Linked DNA regions of Homo sapiens: regions 2, 3, 4, 5, 6 and 7 are each linked to region 1. Evidence: promoter capture Hi-C in 16 types of primary human blood cells and fetal thymus (Javierre and others, 2016). All regions are on one chromosome and are shown on one strand. Each heading gives the region's core, a stretch centred on a gene start or on the middle of the fragment in contact. The rest is flanking DNA. Distances are from core to core; before and after follow the strand shown. Region 1 holds the start of MON1B (MON1 vesicular trafficking associated B). Region 2 holds the start of ZNRF1 (zinc and ring finger 1). Region 3 overlaps MLKL (mixed lineage kinase domain like pseudokinase). Region 4 overlaps ZNRF1 (zinc and ring finger 1). Region 5 overlaps WDR59 (WD repeat domain 59). Region 6 overlaps RFWD3 (ring finger and WD repeat domain 3). Region 7 overlaps GLG1 (golgi glycoprotein 1).

Evidence for each region. The method cuts DNA at HindIII sites, captures the fragments that hold promoters and counts their contacts. A CHiCAGO score of 5 or more calls a contact.
Region 2: a contact is called between the fragment with the promoter of ZNRF1 here and the fragment with the promoter of MON1B in region 1, in 1 of 17 cell types (neutrophils). The highest score is 11.0, in neutrophils.
Region 3: a contact is called between a fragment that was not itself captured here and the fragment with the promoter of MON1B in region 1, in 1 of 17 cell types (neutrophils). The highest score is 5.3, in neutrophils.
Region 4: a contact is called between a fragment that was not itself captured here and the fragment with the promoter of MON1B in region 1, in 1 of 17 cell types (total B cells). The highest score is 5.6, in total B cells.
Region 5: a contact is called between a fragment that was not itself captured here and the fragment with the promoter of MON1B in region 1, in 1 of 17 cell types (neutrophils). The highest score is 5.7, in neutrophils.
Region 6: a fragment that was not itself captured here is called in contact with the fragment with the promoter of MON1B in region 1 in 1 of 17 cell types (neutrophils); the score reaches 8.5 in neutrophils.
Region 7: a contact is called between a fragment that was not itself captured here and the fragment with the promoter of MON1B in region 1, in 1 of 17 cell types (neutrophils). The highest score is 8.0, in neutrophils.

Annotation. Positions count from the first base shown.
Region 1 is chr16:77,189,555-77,192,605 of GRCh38, forward strand. MON1B (MON1 vesicular trafficking associated B) reads left to right here and starts at 1,636. Exons shown (of 6, transcript NM_014940.4): 1 at 1,636-1,704; 2 at 1,922-2,079. The coding sequence starts at 1,932. LOC124903725 reads right to left here and starts at 1,012. Exons shown (of 1, transcript XM_047435021.1): 1 at 354-1,012. The coding sequence starts at 1,012. The coding sequence ends at 668. RefSeq lists enhancers at 1,354-2,302, 1,428-1,717, 1,738-1,787. The HindIII fragment of the contact is 24,724 bases long and covers 1-3,051 here.
Region 2 is chr16:74,997,774-75,000,473 of GRCh38, forward strand. It overlaps ZNRF1 (zinc and ring finger 1), which reads left to right and starts at 1,251. Exons shown (of 5, transcript NM_032268.5): 1 at 1,251-2,322. The coding sequence starts at 1,899. RefSeq lists silencers at 1,043-1,562, 1,963-2,272. The HindIII fragment of the contact is 6,289 bases long and covers 1-2,700 here.
Region 3 is chr16:74,689,784-74,692,483 of GRCh38, forward strand. MLKL (mixed lineage kinase domain like pseudokinase) reads right to left here. Exons shown (of 11, transcript NM_152649.4): 3 at 2,559-2,633; 4 at 1,494-1,680. Among named protein-coding and RNA genes, the nearest start is that of MLKL, 9.7 kb to the right of the region's middle. The HindIII fragment of the contact is 2,074 bases long and covers 221-2,294 here.
Region 4 is chr16:75,016,604-75,019,348 of GRCh38, forward strand. All of the region lies in intron 1 of ZNRF1 (zinc and ring finger 1), which reads left to right. Among named protein-coding and RNA genes, the nearest start is that of ZNRF1, 19 kb to the left of the region's middle. The HindIII fragment of the contact is 199 bases long and covers 1,378-1,576 here.
Region 5 is chr16:74,970,306-74,973,199 of GRCh38, forward strand. The region is part of intron 1 of WDR59 (WD repeat domain 59); the gene reads right to left. Among named protein-coding and RNA genes, the nearest start is that of WDR59, 13 kb to the right of the region's middle. The HindIII fragment of the contact is 5,982 bases long and covers 1-2,894 here.
Region 6 is chr16:74,656,817-74,659,629 of GRCh38, forward strand. All of the region lies in intron 2 of RFWD3 (ring finger and WD repeat domain 3), which reads right to left. Among named protein-coding and RNA genes, the nearest start is that of RFWD3, 8.7 kb to the right of the region's middle. The HindIII fragment of the contact is 3,732 bases long and covers 1-2,813 here.
Region 7 is chr16:74,596,048-74,598,966 of GRCh38, forward strand. All of the region lies in intron 1 of GLG1 (golgi glycoprotein 1), which reads right to left. Among named protein-coding and RNA genes, the nearest start is that of GLG1, 9.6 kb to the right of the region's middle. The HindIII fragment of the contact is 9,477 bases long and covers 1-2,919 here.

The DNA of each region.
Region 1 (3,051 bases), core at 386-2,885:
TCCTCTTGGTGACAGTGACTGAGGGAGTTATTGCGAGATCTGGTTGTTTAAAGTGTGTAGCCCTGGGCTGGGCATGATGGCTCACTCCTGTAATCCCAGCAATTTGGGAAGCTGAGGCGGGTGAATCACCTGAGGTCGGGAGTTCAAGACCAGCCTGGCCAACATGGCGAAACCCCATGTCTACTAAAAATACAAAAATTAGCCGGACGTGGTGGCGGGCACCTGTAATCCCAGCTACTCCAGAGGCTGAGGCAGGAGAATTGCTTGAACCCGGGAGACGGAGGCTGCAATGAGTCAATAACATTTTGCCATTGCACTCCAGCCTGGGTAACACAGCGAGATTAATAAATAAGTTTGCTTATGAGATGTTATTTTATTGTACTTTTTTACATGTTTATTATATATTATATACTTCTAAATGTATTAGGTAAATATATTTTGTATGCACATAAATTTATCCATTGTTTCTGTTATATAAATTTAATATTTATTACTTATCGATTACCTATTGTATATAAAGCACATGATGCTACACTGGTATTTGGAATTCATTACCCTAACTATACTGTAATTAAAATAATTATCCTAACTAGTACCAAAGGCTTCCCCTTAGCAATCACTCGAAGTGTGCCAGCACCTCCACTCACTTCACGTCAAGCGATTCCCATCATTGTTTCACTGATGGAGAAACCAAGGCCCAGGGCACTTGGGGCAAGGCGTTCAGGGGGCTTTCGGTCCGGAAGCAGCGTCGGGGCGGGAATTCGAACCCTGGGTTCCCACACTGGCCCGTGGCAGGGCCCCCAAGCCTTTTCCCAAACTGATCACAGAAAGTGACGACCCGTTCGCCCGGCGGACCGGGGGCGTCGGGCAGGTCCTGGTCCAAGTGAGTGCCCGCCCCTGCCCTGGGCTGGCAGAGTTCTTCCCCCAGCTGCAGGTAGACGTGGGAACCCGGCAGGGTACGGAGCTGCTGGCGCGGCACGCTGATTAGAAGCGGCGACTGCCCGTCAAGCATTCGCGCCTCTCCCCTCCCTTGACTTTCTTGGCAGGGTTAAGGGATAAGAGAAAGTGGAGTTGCCTCAGTTCTGGGAGAGCCCGTTTGTGGGTCCGGCACAGGTATCCATCGGGACTGACGCTGCAAAAGTCCTCTTGTGAAACAAGGAATAGGCTCGAGTCTTCGATTGGGTCGAGGGAGACGTCAATCAATGGATGGGCGTGTGCAAACGCAACACAACGCACAGTATTGGTTAGGATTTGGCGGGGGGAGTAGACAGCGGGGAAATGAGGCGGCTCATCTCGATTGGCCCAGAAAGAAGACGGTCGCGCCCTATGTACTCCGGGATTGGCTAGAGCGAGCCGCGTCCCCCCTCACGCCAACCACTGGTAAGCGAAGTGGGCCTCGCTCTCCCGGGTTAGCAGCCGTAGCCAGATCCGTTGAAAGGAGTGCAGAGAGGTCTCATTGCGCTCCCGAACAGACCTGACGTAGATCCGAAGTGGCCCGCGCCATCTCAACTATGAGGGGACACCCGTAGGCGGCGGGAGAGGGACGCCGCGAGGAGCCAATAAAGCTCCGCAACCGGAAGTGTCTTCTGGGAGGGGTCGTACCCGGAAGTGTGGCACCTCCCGGGCCGCACCCGGAAGTGTGATGCCACCGCCGCTACGGGGAAGTAATGGTATCCGGCCAATTGAGATTCGGAGTTAAAACAGGTGTTTGTATATCTCTATTTCCTGAGGCCCAGTAGAGTCTCCTCTTTTCGGAAAGTGTTGGAGGGGGGACGTATTTGGGCATGATTTTGGATGTCTCGTCCTATTGAAATCCGTGGGGAAATGAGCAGTAGGAGTGTGTCCAAGGGGGCCTGACTCTATAAAGGCTTTTCAGAAGTTTCTTTCACCGCCCGTCACCCTCGATTCCCCTCCCACTCAGGGATGTGCAGATGGAGGTCGGAGGAGACACTGCTGCCCCGGCCCCCGGGGGCGCGGAGGACTTGGAGGACACGCAGTTCCCCAGTGAGGAAGCTAGAGAAGGTGGAGGGGTTCACGCGGTCCCGCCGGATCCCGAAGACGAGGGCCTGGAGGAAACAGGTATGACTCCACTTAGTGGGGTCTTAAAAGGAATCCTTAGGGGTTGTCATTGTTGGACGGGGGAAGGGTCAGTGGGTGACCAGTAGGGAGTCTTGGGACTTAAGAGAAGTGGCTTAAACCATCGCCGGGTCAGGAGGAGGTCACTGTGGACACATGGTGTAGTTTACATCATTGAGGAAGTCATTGGCTGTCAACGGATGTTCACTGGGGGTTTGGTGTGAGTTTAGGTCATTGAGGAATCAAAAAGGGGGCTGTTAGGACCAAAGAGGGTCACTGAGGATTTAGAGTGTTTAGATCAAAGAATGCGCTGAAGAAAGTCAATAGACTCAACAGAGGAGGACTGTTGAGAAGTTAGTGTTTTTGAGGAGTAGGGTGTTATTTATTAAATAATAGAAGTGGGAAGGGGAATCAGTGGAGTTCGATGGGCACTCAGAGTATTTACATCATTGAAGTCACTTGTAGACTGTTGGGGAAGTCTTTAAGGGACCAAATGTTAGTGGATGTGTAAAGTTGTTCATTTGAGATTTAATGGAAGTCACTGAGAAGTCTGTGCCATTGATCACTTTGGAATTAGTGGATGTAAATGGAGTCATTGGGAAGGATCAGTGGACCTCACTGAGAATAAATGTGGATGGGGAGGTTGAGGACTTGGGAATTAATAGCAGGTAAGAGCAGTTATTAGGAGGGAGTAAAGATATTTGGGGACATGGGAGTGTCAGTGAATGTCAGTGACAGAATATGCAATTATTGGGATTTTATGGGAAAATTATTGAGACATAGTTGCACATGGATAATAATGGTTGTCATTGGGGGATGAATGGAAATCAATGGGAATAAATGGATGTGTCAGTAGGGGCTGTTGAAGTTGTGGGTTTTAGTGAATGTTAATGATGGTCATGGGTAGGGGCAATGGAAGTCATTAAAGTCTTGTGTGTTAGTGGATATTATGATGGTTACTGTAGGGAGGGGAGT
Region 2 (2,700 bases), core at 1-2,500, 2.2 Mb before region 1:
AGCCTGGGAGGAGCAAGGCTCCGTCTCAAAAAAAAAAAAAAAGAAAAGAAAAAAAAGAAAAAGAAAAACAGGGCGGGCGCGGTGGCTCATGCCTGTAATCCTAACACTTTGGGAGGCCAAGGCAGGTGGATTACCTGAGGTCAGGAGTTCAAGACCAGCCTGGCCAATACGGTGAAACCCCGCCTCTACTAAAAATACAAAAAATTAGCCAGGTGCAGTGTGGCATGTGCCTGTAATCCCAGCTACTCGGGAGGCTGAGGCAGGAGAATCACTTGAATCCGGGAGGCGGAGGTTGCGGTGAGCCGAGGTTACGCCACACCACTCCAGCCTGGGTGACAGGGCGAGATTACGTCTCAAAAACAAAAACAAAACAAAACAAAAAAAACAGTTGTTCAATAAATGAATGTGAATATAGGAGAAAGACGGCTTGAGGTAGCAAAGGAACACTCCCTTGCAAATGATTCAGGCTTGGTCAACAATACACCTATTGAGTACCCACCGTGTCCTTGGCCCGTGGTGAGGGCCGAAACACAGCACATGGTAAACAAAACAGGGCTCCAGCCTTGGACAGAAGGTTTCTATAATCACTTCTAGCTGCGTTGTTCTATTTCCATACCCATATCTATTCACTTTTTATGGTACATCTATTGATTCTGAAAATTACATTTTAGCTAAGGAATCTACTCATTTGCTTAAGCCCAAAATAGGAAGTTATGATCTAGTGTCAGCAAAACGCCGGATTCACAAGTGTCCCCATGGCGCTGTTTACCCCCAAATAACTAAACCCCGCCAAATGTTGAGATTCCGGACGTGAGGGGTGCTTGGATGGGGAACCCCCGAAAGAATGGACATCACGTCCACCAGAGGGTGCTGTGGGGGCAAATTTGTGCCAGGAGGGGAGCTCGACCGGTGACCCTCAGAGCCAGGTAGGCGTAAGGAGTAAATCTCCTTCTTCCCGGTGTTTCCTTCCCACCCCCTCGAACCATTGCTGCCCCTCCCCCATACTTGGTTCCCCCTGAATAATTTGCCACTTTCGGGGACTTAAGAAGTGTTTGCTTTTGAAAGACATCTGGTTTCTGTGGCTAACGCCCAGTGGTCAGGCCGCCCAGGTCACAGGCCGGCCGGGGGCGGGCGGTGGGTGGGGACTGCTGGGGCGTCAGCGGCCCAGGCGCCGCAGGGACCGCGAAAGGGTTAACCCGGCGGGGGGAGGGGGAGGGGGCGCGGGCCGCGCCTGCGCTCTGCCGCCCTCCATTGTCTCCACGGCGGCGAGGAGCGCCGGCGAGCGCAGCCCGGGACCGAGCGGGGCGGCGCGGCTGGCGGGGCCGGCGGCGGCTGAAGCGAGAGCGCGACGCGACGCGACCGCGGCTTCCCGAGCTGCGCCTGGCCGCCCAGCGCCGCGGCCCGCCCGAGGCCTGGAGGGGTCCGGGCCGCCGTCCATGGTCGCGGCGTCCTGAGGCGGGGGACGCGCCCGGCGCCCCCGGCCCTCCTCCGCCTCCTCCCGCGGGGCGGGCGGCCTCCTCCGGCGCCTCCCCGCGCCCGCCCGCCGCTCGCCGCCGCCTCCCTCCCTCCTTCCCTGCGGCTCCCCCGGCTTTCGGAGCCCGGGGGCGGCCTGTGGCGCGCGGAGCCCGCGCCGGACTGCGCCTCTTTGGACCTTGAGGGGAAACATGCGTTTGCCTTGGATCGTTTGAAATTCTGAGTTTGGGATCCCCGCCCGCCCGCCTGCCTCTTCCGCCCCGCGGGTTTTTTCCTTTTTTCCTTTTGCTTTTTTTCCTTTTCTCCCTCCGGGTCTCCTTTTTGACTCCCTCCCCCTTTATGCTCGCCCAGCCCTCCCCCTGCTGCTGAGAAGTGGGGGAGGGTCTCGGCCTCCAGGTTCCCGCCCCACCGGGGCCCGGGCGAGCATGGGGGGCAAGCAGAGCACGGCGGCCCGCTCCCGGGGCCCCTTCCCGGGGGTCTCCACCGATGACAGCGCCGTGCCGCCGCCGGGAGGGGCGCCCCATTTCGGGCACTACCGGACGGGCGGCGGGGCCATGGGGCTGCGCAGCCGCTCGGTCAGCTCGGTGGCAGGCATGGGCATGGACCCCAGCACGGCCGGGGGGGTGCCCTTTGGCCTCTACACCCCCGCCTCCCGGGGCACCGGCGACTCCGAGAGGGCGCCCGGCGGCGGAGGGTCTGCGTCCGACTCCACCTATGCCCATGGCAATGGTTACCAGGAGACGGGCGGCGGTCACCATAGAGACGGGATGCTGTACCTGGGCTCCCGAGCCTCGCTGGCGGATGCTCTACCTCTGCACATCGCACCCAGGTGGTTCAGCTCGCATAGTGGTGAGTCCGCGGGTGGTGGAGGCCTCGGAGGGAGGGCGCGCCGGGGCGCCCCAAGCCTTCGCGTGCGTGCCAAGGTTTGGGAATGTAGTGCACGACCGGGATCTGTCTGCATTCCCTTTGGTTCCCGATGCCAAGGGATAAATGGGATACCTACCGTCTGGAAACTAGGCTTTCTGCGAGGCTGCGGAGCCTGGCGATTTAGGGACTCACGGCGTGTGTTCACTTGTGGAAGGGCAGAGCGAAGCCTACCTATTGGAGTTCCATTTATTGGCATCACCCTCCTCAGAGAAGAGGTCGTGTCTGGCTGAGAGCAAGTCAGCCTGGGTACTTCCATTCTGCCACTGCAGCACTGTGCCTGCCTCACCGGTAACGGAGAGA
Region 3 (2,700 bases), core at 8-2,507, 2.5 Mb before region 1:
CAGGGAAAAGACAGACGACTTAATAGATGGTATAGAGAAAACTGACTTACTATGTGGCTAAAAATAAAAGTTGACCCTACATAACGTCACATACAAAGGTGGATTCTAGTAGGATTAAAACCTAAATATAAAAAATAAAACTGGAAAGTTAAGAGAGGAAAATATAGAATGCCTTTAAGATCTAGAGGTGGAGCAGGACACCTCCAGAGCACAAATAAAAAGCTTGCAATGTCTAAAGCTGACAAGTGCTTTATTTCCACAATATACAAAGATTTACAAACAGACAAGACAAAAGCAGCAACCGTGATGGAAAAAAGGGCAGAGGATATGAACAGGCAATTTATGGAAGAGAAAACCCAAATAACTAAAACATGTAAATAAGGGCTTGAATTCATTAGTAAAAACAGAAATGCAAGTTCAAATAACTACAAGATATTGATCACTTTATAACTATAAAGATGAAAGTAATCAGAAAGCTGGATAACACTAAGGGTTGGTGAGGTTGCTTGTGGGAGTGTAGGCATAGACACTGTTCTGAAGAGTTGCCTGGTAGTACTTAGTCACTTAATATACACATATCCCATGGCCCATCATTTTCTCTCCTGGTGCTATATCCTGAAGGATTCTTATACAGGTCCCTAAAGGGAAACTAAGTATGGCATCTTTTTGGTGGGGAAAAGTTGGAAGCTGACTAGGTTCCATCACTGGAAAAAAAAAGAGACAAAATATATGGCTCACGCCTGTTATCCCAACATTTTGGAAGGCTGAGGCAGAAGGCGCTTGAGTCCAGGAGTTCCAGACAAGCCTGGGCAGCACAGTGGGTCCCTGTCTCTACAAAAAATTTAAATATTAGACAAGAATGGTGGTGCACACCTGCAGTCCCAGCTACTTGGGAGGCTGAGGTGTGAGGATTGCTGGAGCCCAGGAGGTTAAGGCTGCAATGAGCTATGATCTCACCACTGCACTCCAGCCTGGACAACAGAGTGAGACCTTGTCTCAAAAAAAAAAAAAAAAAAAAAAAAAAAAAGGCAAAATGTGGATCTTCACCATGGATGGCAGACAGAAATTAAGGAGTCCAGATATGGAACACGTTTCATGATGTTGAGTGAAAAAAGTGAGGAAAGGAGGCAACAGACACGTAACTCTACCAGTTGTGAACATGAAAAATGTATGCATACATTTTACAAGAACACATACAAACAAAACACACTAGAACTACTGTCTGTGGAGGGGATGAGCAACTGGGAAACAAGGTTGGAAGGGAAAGTTGTTTTTTTTTTTTAAATATATATGTGGACAAAGGAGAGAAGACCTAGAACTGAGGTGGAAAGATGTATTTAAGTCAAGACTCTGCTCCTTAACAGTGGAGAGCACATAATTTAACCCTTTAGGGCCCAGGCTTCCTCATCTAAAAATGGAGACGATATCCCTCTCTCCTTGGAGAGTTAGAGTAAGTATTGGTACACACGAGAGAACCACACAAAACAACTTACGCAATGCTGCCAGCCTGGAGTTTTTTGAATACTTTTATGGCCACTGGAGCTCTGTGGTATTCTCCTTTATAAAGTGTGCTGACTTCATTTTCCCTTAGCAGAATCCACGGGGATCCTGAAAGCTGCTCCTTCTTGATCTCCTTGATTTGCTCTTGCGGGATCTCCTGCATGCATTTTGGTGGTAAATCTGACCTCACCCCCGAGAGGAAAGAAGACAAAAGAGTCAATGAGCAGAGGAAGGGGTCCTAAGGGAGGTGGCATATTTGTGATGTGTGAGTGGGAAGCTCTACTACATGAACCAGAGCTGGTGGTGGCTGGGGCTTCTGATGGACTCAGCCCAAGGGAGCGGCTCCCGTGCCTCTGAGTGACCAGTAGAGACACAGCTGGACAGTTAACAGAATGTGTCATCCACTTCCTTTCCCTCCTCTTCAAATCCCGCCTGTCCCTCCAGCCTTAACCCTCATCCAGACTCATCTCTCTCATCCTGGAAGGATGTCTATTCCTGTTACCCAGAGCTTGGCACTTGAGCATCTGGCATCTGGCGTAGTCATTTCAGATCTAGTAGTTAGGGACATAGTTCAAGCTCAGTAACCTTGCTGTTGTGTGTTCACTGTCTGTCTTTCCTCTTTCCTCCTCCACCCCGTGAGCTCCTGGAAGGCAGTGTCCTTCTCTGCATCTTAGTTACCTCTTTGCATGGCCTCTGGCATAAACCAGATACTCACAGTTTTGTTGAATGAATGAATGAGTGGGCATTTTAAATTTGATTTGAATTTCTTCTTGGAAATTCAGCAACTGAACTGAAGCTTTGATTCTATTCATAGAGGTTTTTAAGTACTTTGACAGCTGCTAGAAGGTATCTTACTGGTCAAGAAGCTCTCTCCACATGTTATTCCATGGACAGAAGCCTGGGCTAGCCATGAATGGATCCCCAAACCTGTGGGCTGCTTCCAGCCATCCAGCACAGAAAATGGACAAATGCAGGGGTAGCGGGAGGCTGGGGTCCCAGTAAACTGATGACTTCTAGTTTGGGGGCCATCAGAAACAGCAGGGCACATGATAACTTACACTGCCTCAAAGTTTCCTTGATTTCTTTCATGTTGATTTCTAATCGTCTCAGTGAAGCTTCTATTTTTTCATTATCTGCAGGAAAAAAGGGCAGTATATGCTCAAAATAGATATTAAAATCACACGCCAATCAAAACTAAAA
Region 4 (2,745 bases), core at 227-2,726, 2.2 Mb before region 1:
CGACTGACTGCAACGTCTGCCTCCCGGGTTCAAGCAATTCTCATGCCATAGCCTCCAGAGTAGCTGGGACTACAGGCGTCTGTCACCATGCCTGGCTTTTTTTTTTTTTTTTTTTTGTATGAGTAGAGATGGGGTTTCACCATGTTGGTCAGGCTGGTCTCGAACTCCTGACCTCAGGTGATTCACCTGCCTCGGCCTCCCAGAGTGCTGGGATTACAGGCGTGAGCCACCGCGGCCGGCCTACTGTTTTATTTACTATCGTTTTGTAATAGGTCTTGCTACATGGAAGGGCAAAACTGTGTTGGCTAACTGAATCTTTCTAAGGGACAAATAAGGGAATCCAGATAGAATAAACACAGTGAAGTACAGAGTACCAGGAACTGCTCTGTTTAAAGCTGGTATTCTTTTTTAATGATAGGACATCTGGCAAACCCACCCTAATGGGCAGTTTCATTTTTTTCCCTACTATATTGCACAAACAATAACATTTCCTGATGTCTTTGTATTGCAAACAGCAGAGTAAACAGTTCTGTATGTTACAGACAACAACAGTAAAAACAACAAAAACTGGTTAGCTATTTTTGGCACTTTGTGCTTCCAGATAAATTTTAGAATCAGCTTTGTTAACTTTCTGTGAGGAGAAAAAACTGTTAGGATATTTATTAGAATTAAATTGAGTTTATCAATAAGCCATTTTTGTAAATTTGGGCTTATCCATGAATCTGATAGAATTGATTTACAGATATAAAAATAAAAATTTTAAACATTTTATTTACATTTAAAATTTTTGGAAATAATTTCAGACTTACAGAAAAGTTGCAGAACTTATACAAATAAATATTACATATCCATCTCCCAGAATTCTCAAAGGTTATCAGAAAGATAAATCATTGACATCCATTATGTTCTTGAGTCTGGAAAGCAGCTTAAGATCTTAATAAATACAACTTTTCAAGTTTAAGAAATCTATATTGATCTGCTCCTGGGAATTGGAGAGCCATGTGATCTTAAAAGTGACATGGTGTCACTTAGACTAGGCCTAAAACTGAGATCTCCTTTAATCATTGTTGGTCTGTATCCTTATGTGAACAGAAATAAATCCACTGCCACTCTCTGCTCCCAAGGTGCTTGGATCCAATCTGTTGAAAGAAGGGCTTCTTAGACAGTTGTAGGGTAGATAATTCAAATCAAGTTGGCATCAGGATGACACAAGAATGGCTTCTGGAAGTTTGGCTCAGCTGAGCCAGAGATGCCTTTATTGGAGGAATGGGACACCCTCTCTTGGGAGAGACAGTATAGGGTAGTAGTTAAGGTCACAGGCTTGGCACCAGACTGTCTTTGGTGTGAATCCCAGTGTTGCTAATTTTTGGTTTTGGAAGCTTGGGCAAGTGACCTAACAACCTGTGCCTTAATTTCTTTACCTCTAAAGTGAAGCTAACAATAATAACAGTGTCTATCATATAGGACTCATATGAATCAAATGAGTTTGTAGCATATCCACATCACTCACAACAGTGCCCAGCAGGTAGTAAGTGATCAGTAATGTAAGCTGTTAATATTTAATGTCACTGGATAAAGCTTTATGATTTTTTTGAAGATCTTGAATTCCTTTTGTTAGGATACCCTATAGTTTTGGTCCTTACTGTTAATAGTAGCTTTTAAAATTGTTTATAATTGTTTCGGGTTTCTTGTTATGCTCTTGTAGGTTTCATAGTTTTAATGAGAAATATCGACAGAAAATTCAGAGAATCACACCCTTTGCAAATAATGACTGTTTTGTTTCCTCTTTTGTAATCCTCTTTTGTGTTACTTTTCTTTCTTATTTTAAGATTGCTGGCTAGTTCCTCCAGTAAAAATCGTATTAGAATCTATGATCATGGGAATCCTTATTTTTCTCCTGCTTTTTTTTAAAGGGAATGTTTCCTGCTTTTGGAAGCATCACATATGTTTTTGGTATATTGCCTTTATTCTCTTTTATTCCTACTTTGCTAAATTATCACAAACAGCAATTTTATCAACAGTTTTCCTTGTATTTATTCAGATGATCATCTGGGCTTTCTCCTTTCAGTTGTAAATGATTTGAATTATGTTAATAGATTTTCTAATGTTAAATTATCCTTATATTCTTGAAATTAATCCTGCTTGGTTGTGATGTATTTTTTTAATACATTTCCAGATTTAATACGTTAATATTCTCCTTTGGATTTTTGCACATATGTCATAAAATTTCACTCATAATTTTGTTATACTGTCTTTTTCTTCTCTTACTAAGATTAATAAGGCAAGGCTTGGTGGCTCACGCCTGTAATCCCAGCACTTTGGGAGGCTGAGGCAGGCGGATCATTTGAGTTCAGGAGTTCAAGACCAGCCTGGCTAACATGATGAAACCCTGTCTCTACTGAAAATATAAAAGTTAGCCGGGCGTGGTGGCGCGTGACTGTAATCCCAGCTACTCAGGAGGTTGAGGCAGGATGACTGCTTGAACCCAGGAGGCGGAGGTTGCAGTGAGCTGAGATGGTGTCACTGCATTCCAGCCTGGGAGACAGAGTGAGACGTCTCAAAAAACAAACAAAAAGATTAATATAGCTTTTTTTTTGGTAGAGACTACTATGGGTTTTTTTTTTGTAGAGACTACTGTGTTGCTCAGGCTGGTCGTGAACTCCCAGTCTCAAGCGATCTTCTCACCTTGGCCTCCCAAAGTGCTGAGAGTACAGGTATGAGTCACCATGCCTGGACAAAATACAG
Region 5 (2,894 bases), core at 335-2,834, 2.2 Mb before region 1:
ATTTAAAGGCAGGCAATGTGATACCTTGTCATTTGTCATTTCACTTAATTCTACTTATCTTCTAAGTCCCAAGACATACCTCCCCTAAGAAGCTCTCCCAGAATGGCATGAACCCAGGAGGCGGAGCTTGCAGTGAGCCAAGATGCGCCACTGCACTCCAGCCTGGGTGACAGAGAGAGACTCTGTCTCCAAAAAAAAAAAAAAAAAAAAAAAAAAAAAAAAGCAGCTCTCCCAAGGACCTCTCTAAGCAGGTTCCACCTTTTCCGAAAGCACTTTCTCTGCCCCTGCATCACAGAACTTGCCACAGCTTGCTGTGTTTAGTTATTGCTATACACATCTTTCTTCTCCCACTAGCTGATGAGCCCCTGCTGAGCATGGTCTATTTCATTTCTCCCAGAGCACCCAGCAAGTTGCTTTGTACACAGAGGTGCTCTGTAAAACTCTGTAGTATGAAAGATGGTTGCAGCTGGGCATGGTGGTGCACACCTATAATCCCAGGACTTTGGGAAGCCAACGCAGGAGGATTGCTTGGAGCCCAGGAGTTCGAGACCAGCCTGGACAACATGATTAAACCACACCTTTTAAAAAAAAAAAAAATTAGCCAGGAATGGTGTATGCACTTGTACTCCCAGCTACTTGGGGGGCTGAGGGGAGGATAACTTGAGCCCGAGAGGTTGTGGCTACAATGAGCAATGTTCACACCACTACACTCCTGGCTAAACGACAAAGCAAGACCCTGTCTAAAAAAAAAGCCAAAAAAAAGATGGTAGGTCAGAACCAAGTCAAAATCAAGGTCCTTCCAGCTCACAATGTGCCAAGGTGTTCCTCGACATCTCTGAGAATATTTTTGGTGGTTTCTCTTGATAATTCCCCTTAATAATTTATCACCCACGAGTTTATCTAAACTTTTAAAGTTCATTCGTTTCGTTAATACCTCCTAGGACAATAAACTTCAATAGCTCACTGCATGCTGTGTGAGACGTTCTATTAGAATAATGTGATGAACAAAATTTTGTTTCTGACAGTGGTCCCAAAAAAAAGAGAAAAAAAAGATTTGTGTACCTTACCCATACACTTTATACTGTAAAATTTTCATCAGTTTTCCTTCCTTCTTTCCTTCCTTTTTTTTTTTTTTTTTTTTTTTTGAGATGGAGTCTTGCTCTGTCACCCAGGCTGGAGTGCAGTGGCGCAATCTCGGCTCACTGCAACCTCTGCCTCCTGAGTTCAAGCAATTCTCCCGCCTCAGCCTCCTGAGTAGCTGGGATTACAAGTACCTGTCACCGTGCCTGGCTGTTTTTTGTATTTTTAATAGAGATGGGGTTTCACCATGTCGGCCAGGCTGGTCTCGAACTACTGACCTTAAGTGATCCACCTGCCTGGGCCTCCCAAAGTGCAGGGATTACAGGTGTGAGCCACAGCACCCAGCCTCTAAGAAAGTGTCTCACTCTGTCGCCAAGGCTGGAGTGCAGTGGTACTCACTGTAACCCCAAACTTCTGGGCTCAAGTGATTAACCTGCCTCAGGCTCCCAAGTAACTGGGACTACAGATGCACACCACCACACCCGGCTAATTTTAAAATTTTGTGTAGAGATGGGGGGTCGCTATGTAGCCCAGTCTGGTGTTGAACTCCTGGGTTCAAGCAATCTTCCTGCCTCAGCCTCCCAAGGGGCTAGGGTTATGGGCATGTGCCACCATGCCCAGCCAAACTCTTGCTTTTCCATACTGAAAAGTCCTCCTCAATTGTAGGAAAACAAACTTATTGTCCAGGACTGCTCTCTATCAAAACAGGTATCTTTAAACAGAAGAGAATGAAGTTCTTAGAAGTCTTTGTTCCTTCAACTGCAAAGAAGGATGGTGACTTTTGGCACACTTAACACTTTAGGATTTACATGCCCTTTATGAAATGAGAATTGATGGTGATATTTGATTCTGATTCTCTTGGAGTAAATATAATAATTTGGAAACGTCAAGCTAACTGATGGCTAATGAAGGAAATCAATTCCATGAGACTCTATTAGACTACAAATTGCTGCTGTCCTCGTTTAAAAAATTTCTTGGTGAGTCAACTTCCAAAGGCAACAGTGTTCTGAAGCACTTGGTTTCAGCAATCCAAAGCAACAGACCACAATTTATCAAAGGGAGGAAAAACTCTGCCCTTTCTCCAGGCATAAAATGGAGGTAGCCTGGTGCAGCAGAAACGGTATGCATCGGCTTTGCAGTCAGAATTAGATTAAAACTCATGTCTAGGCCAGGCACGGTGGCTCACACCTGTAATCTCAGCACGATGGGAGGCCAAGGTGGGTGGATCATTTCAGGTTAGGAGTTTGAGACCAGCCTGGCCAACATGGCTACTAAAAATACAAAAATTAGCCAGGCGTGGTGGCGCACACCTGTAATCCCAGCTACTCAGGAGGCTGAGGCACAAGATTCACTTGAAACCTGGGAGATGGAGATTGCAGTGAGCCGAGATGGAGCCACTGCATTCCAGCCTGGGTGACAGAGCAGGACTCTGTCTTAAAAAAAAAAAAAAAAAAAAAAAAAAAAGAGGTTTTACAGACTAAAGCCACAAACTGAAAACCACTGATTATTAAAAGGGTCCGACCATTTCAGAGGACAAGATCCAATTTCTATTCAAATTAGATATTGGCCAGGCACGGTCGCTCACGCCTGTAATCCCAGCACTTTGGGAGGCCGAGGCGGGCAGATCACCTGAGGTCTGAGGTCGGGAGTTTGAGACCAGCCTGACCAACAAGGAGAAACCCCATCTCTACTAAAAACACAAAAAATTAGCCAGGTGTTGTGGCGCATGCTTGTAATCCCAGCTACTCAGAAGACTAAGGCAGGAGAATCGCTTGAACCCGGGAGGTAGAGGTTGCAGTGAGCCAAGATTGCGC
Region 6 (2,813 bases), core at 177-2,676, 2.5 Mb before region 1:
TCAACATTATCAGGAATTTAGAAGAAGTTGATGTCAACTCTTATGGATGACTTTTGCCGGGCTCAAGACTTCAGTTAAGAAAGTAACTGCAGATGTGCTAGAAACAGCAAGAGAACTAGACTTAGAAGATGTGACTGAATTGATCTCATTCCTAGATTTTCCTTTCCTTCTTATTGGTTAGTTTATTGCTTATCCCACTGAATATCCATTACCTCAGGCAGGCCCCAGGGAAAATGATTTAGGCTTTTCACACTCTGCATTGCTCAGAGTCAAGAGTAGTCTTGCAAATGGGGTTTTCCAGAGAACCACCAACAGGTCATATAAAGATAATTCTCTGGGAATGAGGCTTTGAAGGTGCTCCAATCCCTCTGGTGCCTGCCAGGCTGTTGGTTTTTACTATGATTACAGGCAGATGCTTTTCACAACTATCAAGGAGCTGGAGAAGGTGACAAGAATAAGGAATGCCATAGAGCTCAATGAGATTCGGCTGTTTTTCTTTAATAATCACTCCCTGGATTGCTATAAGCATTTGGTCAGTTTCCTGAATTATGAAAAAGTTGATCCTGACAAATTCTGCCAGTTGTTTCACTACTTCCATGGAGATAATTCTCTGTGGTCCTTACTCTGCCATTTTCACTGACATCACCCAGGTTTTCTTTTTCTTTTTTTTTTTTTTTGAGACGGAGTCTCGCTCTGCGGCCCAGGCTGGAGTGTAGTGGCGCAATCTCGGCTCACTGCAACATCCACCTCCCGGGTTCAAGCGATTCTCCTGCCTCAGTCTCCTGAGCAGCTGGGATTATGGGCACCCGCCACCACACCCGACTAATTTTTGTATTTTTAGTAGACAGGGTTTCACCATGTTGGCCAGGCTGGTCTCGAACTCGTGACCTCAGGTGATTCGCCTGCCTCAGCCTCCCAAAATGCTGCGATTACAGGTGTGAGCCACTGCGCCTAGCCAGGTTTTCTTTTTAGACAGTGCTAAGCAAGTTTACCAACTCCATTTCTTGAGATTCTAAGTGAACAGCAGCTATAGCTACCATGAGACTAAACACATAAGAAAAGCATTTCATAAGAAGATTTAATCAAATACATACTAGAGTTAGGGTGTTGACACGTATATCAATAGAATTCTACATAGAACCCAGTAAAAAAGTGATAGACGATTAAAAAAAATCACTCTTTAATATTGCTTTTATGTAGCAAAGAATTTCCAAAGTCAGGCAAGAACACAGGAAAGGGGAACTGTGAAAACCAACAGGAAGCAGTGCTAGGGTTTCTCTTTGGGAGCACAGATTTAGAACCCAAGAAATTCTCCTCCTTCCCTGCACTTACCAACTTTGAATTTTGCTCCTTCCCTACTCTCTGTAGTCCTAGACTCCGTATGCTCCAGGAAAACAATATTGTGATCTGTGTTATTCACCAATATATCTAGGGCAAAGTTTAGTCTCTCACACAGAGGAGTGTTATCAATATTTGATGAATGAGTGATGACCCCCACTGCCAGAATGAAACCGCCCCAAACAAATCAGAAAGGAGTTTGTGACCTCAGCTAAGCCTGTTGGGAAGAATAAGCTCACTACTTAGCTTTCCATAGCTTTGGCTTCTTGGCTGACTGTGAGTCAAAAGCTGTTCACCTTGGCCCAGGCTTTCAACACCTGGCCCAGGGACAGTCTGTCAGATGAGTAAATGTCAAACACCACACTGAGAAATTCATCTCAAGAAATTCAGAAGTTATAAGCGATTAGTCCTGGGAAAGGTCATACTTCAGGGAAAAAAGTTTTAATCACATTTACCTGGCTCCAGAACTGATGTAATTTCCACTGAACTGCACACTTCCTGACCGTTTAGGTTATTCCCTTTGTGGAGACAGATTATGGCTGCCAAATAGCTTGACTGACATCTTTCAACATTTAAATTCTGTATAACTCATTCCCTGAGCAGATTCTATAATTTTTTTTTTTTTTTTTTGAGACAGAGAGTCACTCTTGTCACCCAGGCTGGATTACAGTGACAAGATCTTGGCTCACTGCAAGCTCCGCCTCCTAGGTTCAAGGAATTCTCATGCCTTAACCTCCCAAGTAGCTGGGACCACAGGTGTGTGCCACCACGCCCGGCTAATTTTTTGTATTTTTAGTAGAGATGGGGTTTCACCATGTTGGCCTCGAACTCCTGGCCTAAAGGGATCCGCCTGCCTTGGCCGCTCAAAGTTCTGAGATTACAGGCGTGAGCCACTATGCCCAGCCACATCAAGCAATTTTCTCACTAGAGTTTGGCTTCTGTTTGGCTCTCTAGTGGTTCTGTTTTTCTTTGTAAGTTGGCATCTGGTTTATAAGTGTCACCCTTAAGTTGGTTAATACAAGTCACTGTGCTTGACCAAGAGGAATCCACTCTGCGTCCCCCAACAAGAATGAGTGCATGGATAAGCAAGACTGAGGACTTGCAAGAGGCCTCCTGACAGTCAGCCAGCTCCTGGAAACACCACTCACAACTCTCAACCATGGAAAGTTAGCCCATTTACTTTGGGAGGGTCCCCAAATTACACCATAAGGTGCCTTCACCTATAACACAAATGTATGAAATCTTACCCTGCCTTTATAACGTGAGTAATGACATCTTAAAACAACAGACTATAGCCAAGCCTGCTGGTGCACGCCTGCAATCCCAGCTACTTAGGAGGCTGAGGCACAAGAATCGCTTGAACCCGGGAGCCAGAGGTCCTGGTGAGCTGATACTGCGCCACTGCACTCCAGCCTGAGTGACAGAGCAAGACTCTTGTCTTAAAAACAAAAAAAAAACCCAGAGTAATATGCATT
Region 7 (2,919 bases), core at 194-2,693, 2.6 Mb before region 1:
GAGAGGCAGAGGTTGCCCCTTATACGTGAAAGTGGAGTTTTCCTTTGATAGGCAGTATTCCAAATTTGGCAGAACTTAATTCCTTTACCCAGAGGATTTACCCCTTCAAAGTGTACACATTTTGAGATCATGCCACTGCCCTCCAGCCTGGGCAACAGAGCGAGACTCTGTCTCAAAAAAAGAAAAAAAATTTATTGTGGGCTGGGCGTGGTTGCTAATGCCTGTAATCCCAGCACTTTGGGGGGCTAAGGCAGGTGGATCACCTGAGGTCAGCAGTTCGAGACAAGCCTGGCCAACATGGTCAAACCCCTTCTCTACTAAAAATACAAAAATTAGCCAGAAGTGGTGGCGTGTGCCTGTAAACCCAGCTACTCGGGAAGCTGAGGCAGGAGAATTGCTTGAACTCGGGAGGCAGAGGTTGCAGTGAGCCAAGATCGTGCCATTGCACTCCAGCCTGGGCCACAAGAGACTCCACCTCAAAAAAAAAATTATTGTGATATTATGCATCCTTTTGGTACTAAATCTTCAAAATCAAATGTGTATTTTATACTTACAGCACATCTCAATTCAAACAGGCCATGTTTCAACTGTTCACTAGCTGCACGTGGCTGATGACTACCACAGTAGACAGTGCAGTCCTAGGTTACTTATGCTTTAGGGACAGGGGGGAAAATGAGCTATCACACAGCTGGACTGACTTGTTTTCAAATCTTGATTCCACTACTTACAAGCCCTGAGGCAAGCTATTTAGAATCAGTTTTCTCACTAAAAATAATAGGATGTAATAGGCTGGGTACAGTGGCACATGCCTATAATTCCAGCACTCTGGGAGGCCAAGGCAGGAGGACTGCTTGAACTCAGGAGTTGGAGACCAGCCTGGACAACAGAGTGAGACCTCATCTCTACAAAAAAAAACAACTTTTAAAATTAACCGAGTATGGTTACTACTAAGGAGGAGATACTCAGGAGGCTGAGGTGGGATGATCACTCGTGCTCGGGAGGCAGAGGCTGCAGTGAATCATGATCATGCCACTGCACTGCAGCCTGGGCAAGAGAGTGAGACCTCGTCTCAAACAAACAAAAAAAAAACCCAAAACAAAACTCACCAGGCACAGTGGCTCACGCCTGTAATCCCAGCACTTTGGGAGGCCGAGGCGGGAGGATCACCAGGTCAAGAGATCAAGACCAGCATGTCCAACATGGCGAAACCCCGTCTCTAGTAAAAATACAAAAATTACCTGGGCGTGGTGGGGTGCGCCTATAGTCCCAGCTACTCAGGAGGCTGAGGCAGGAGAATCGCTTGAACCAGGGAGGCTGAGGTTGCAGTGAGCTGACATCATGCCACTGCCCTCCAGCCTGGATGACAGAGTGAGACTCCATCTCAAAAAAAAAAAAAAAGAAAGAAAAAAGAAAAAAAAAGCTCCGGTGATAGATGGTGGTGCAAGCAGATCACCTGAGGTCAGGAGTTCAAGACCAGCATAGCCAACATGGCGAAATCCTGCCTCTACTAAAAAAACAAAAATTAGCCGGGCGCAGTGGCTCACGCCTGTAATCCCAACACTTTGGGAGGCCGAAGCTGGCGGATAACGAGGTCAGGAGATTGAGACCATCCTGACTAACACAGTGAAATCCCATCTCTACTAAAAAATACAAAAAATTAGCCGGGCATGGTGGCGGGCGCCTGTAGTCCCAGCTACTCGGGAGGCTGAAGCAGGAGAATGGCGTGAACCCGGGAGGTGGAGCTTGCAGTGAGCTGAGATCGCACCACTGCACTCCAGCCTGGGTGACAAAGTGAGACTGCCTCAAAAAAAAAAAAAAAAAAGCTGGACATGGTGGTGTGTACCTGTAGTCCTAGCTACTCATGAGGCTGAGGCAGGAGAATCGCTTGAACCCGGGAGCCAGAGATTACAGTGAGCTGAGATCACACCACTGCACTCCAGCCTGGGCGTCAAGAGCAAGACTCTGTCTCGAAAACAAAATCAAACAAACAAAATCAATAAGAATGATAATAATAAAACATCTCTCATAAGATTAAATGAGATAACGCCTAGAAAGCATCCAGTCCCTCAGAACAGGGCACACAGAAAACCCTCAGTAAATGCTAACCATTATAAGTAGCAGTAGTATACTTGAACACTGAGCAGTGTCTTGCACACAGGTTTCAATAAATGTTTGCTGAAAGAAGAAAAATTGGTCGGGCGCGGTGGCTCACGCCTGTAATCCCAGCACTTTGGGAGGCCAAGGCGGGCGGATCACGAGGTCAAGAGATCAAGACCATCCTGGCCAACATGGTGAAACCCCGTCTCTACTAAAAATACAAAAAATTAGCCGGGCGTGGTGGCGGGCGCCTGTAGTCCCAGCTACTCGGGAGGCTGAGGAAGGAGAATCACTTGAACCCAGGAGGTGGAGGTTGCAGTGAGCCGAGATCGCGCCACTGCACTCTAGCTTGGTGACAGAATGAGACTCCATCTCAAAAAAAAAAAGAAAAAAGAAAGAAGAAAAATTAATTTACATGATAGCCTATAAGCCATTTTAACTGCTGCTTTTAAAAATATATAAATAAGGCCGGGCGCGGTGGCTCACGTCTGTAATCCCAACACTTTGGGAGACTGAGGTGGGTGGATTGCCTGAGGTCAGGAGTTTGAGACCACCCTGGTCAACATGGTGAAACCTCGTCTCTACAAAAATTAGCCGGGTGTGCTGGCAAGTGCCTATAATCCCAGCTACTCGGGAGGCTGAGGCAGGAGAATGGCTTGAACCCGAGAGGTGGAGGTTGCAGTGAGTCGAGATCATTCCACTTCACTCCAGCCTGAGCAAGAGCGAAACTCCACCTCAAAACAACAACAACAAATATATAAATATATATATATATAACTTATATAAAGAGGAGATTTTTGTTATTGTTCCTGAGTAAATTTG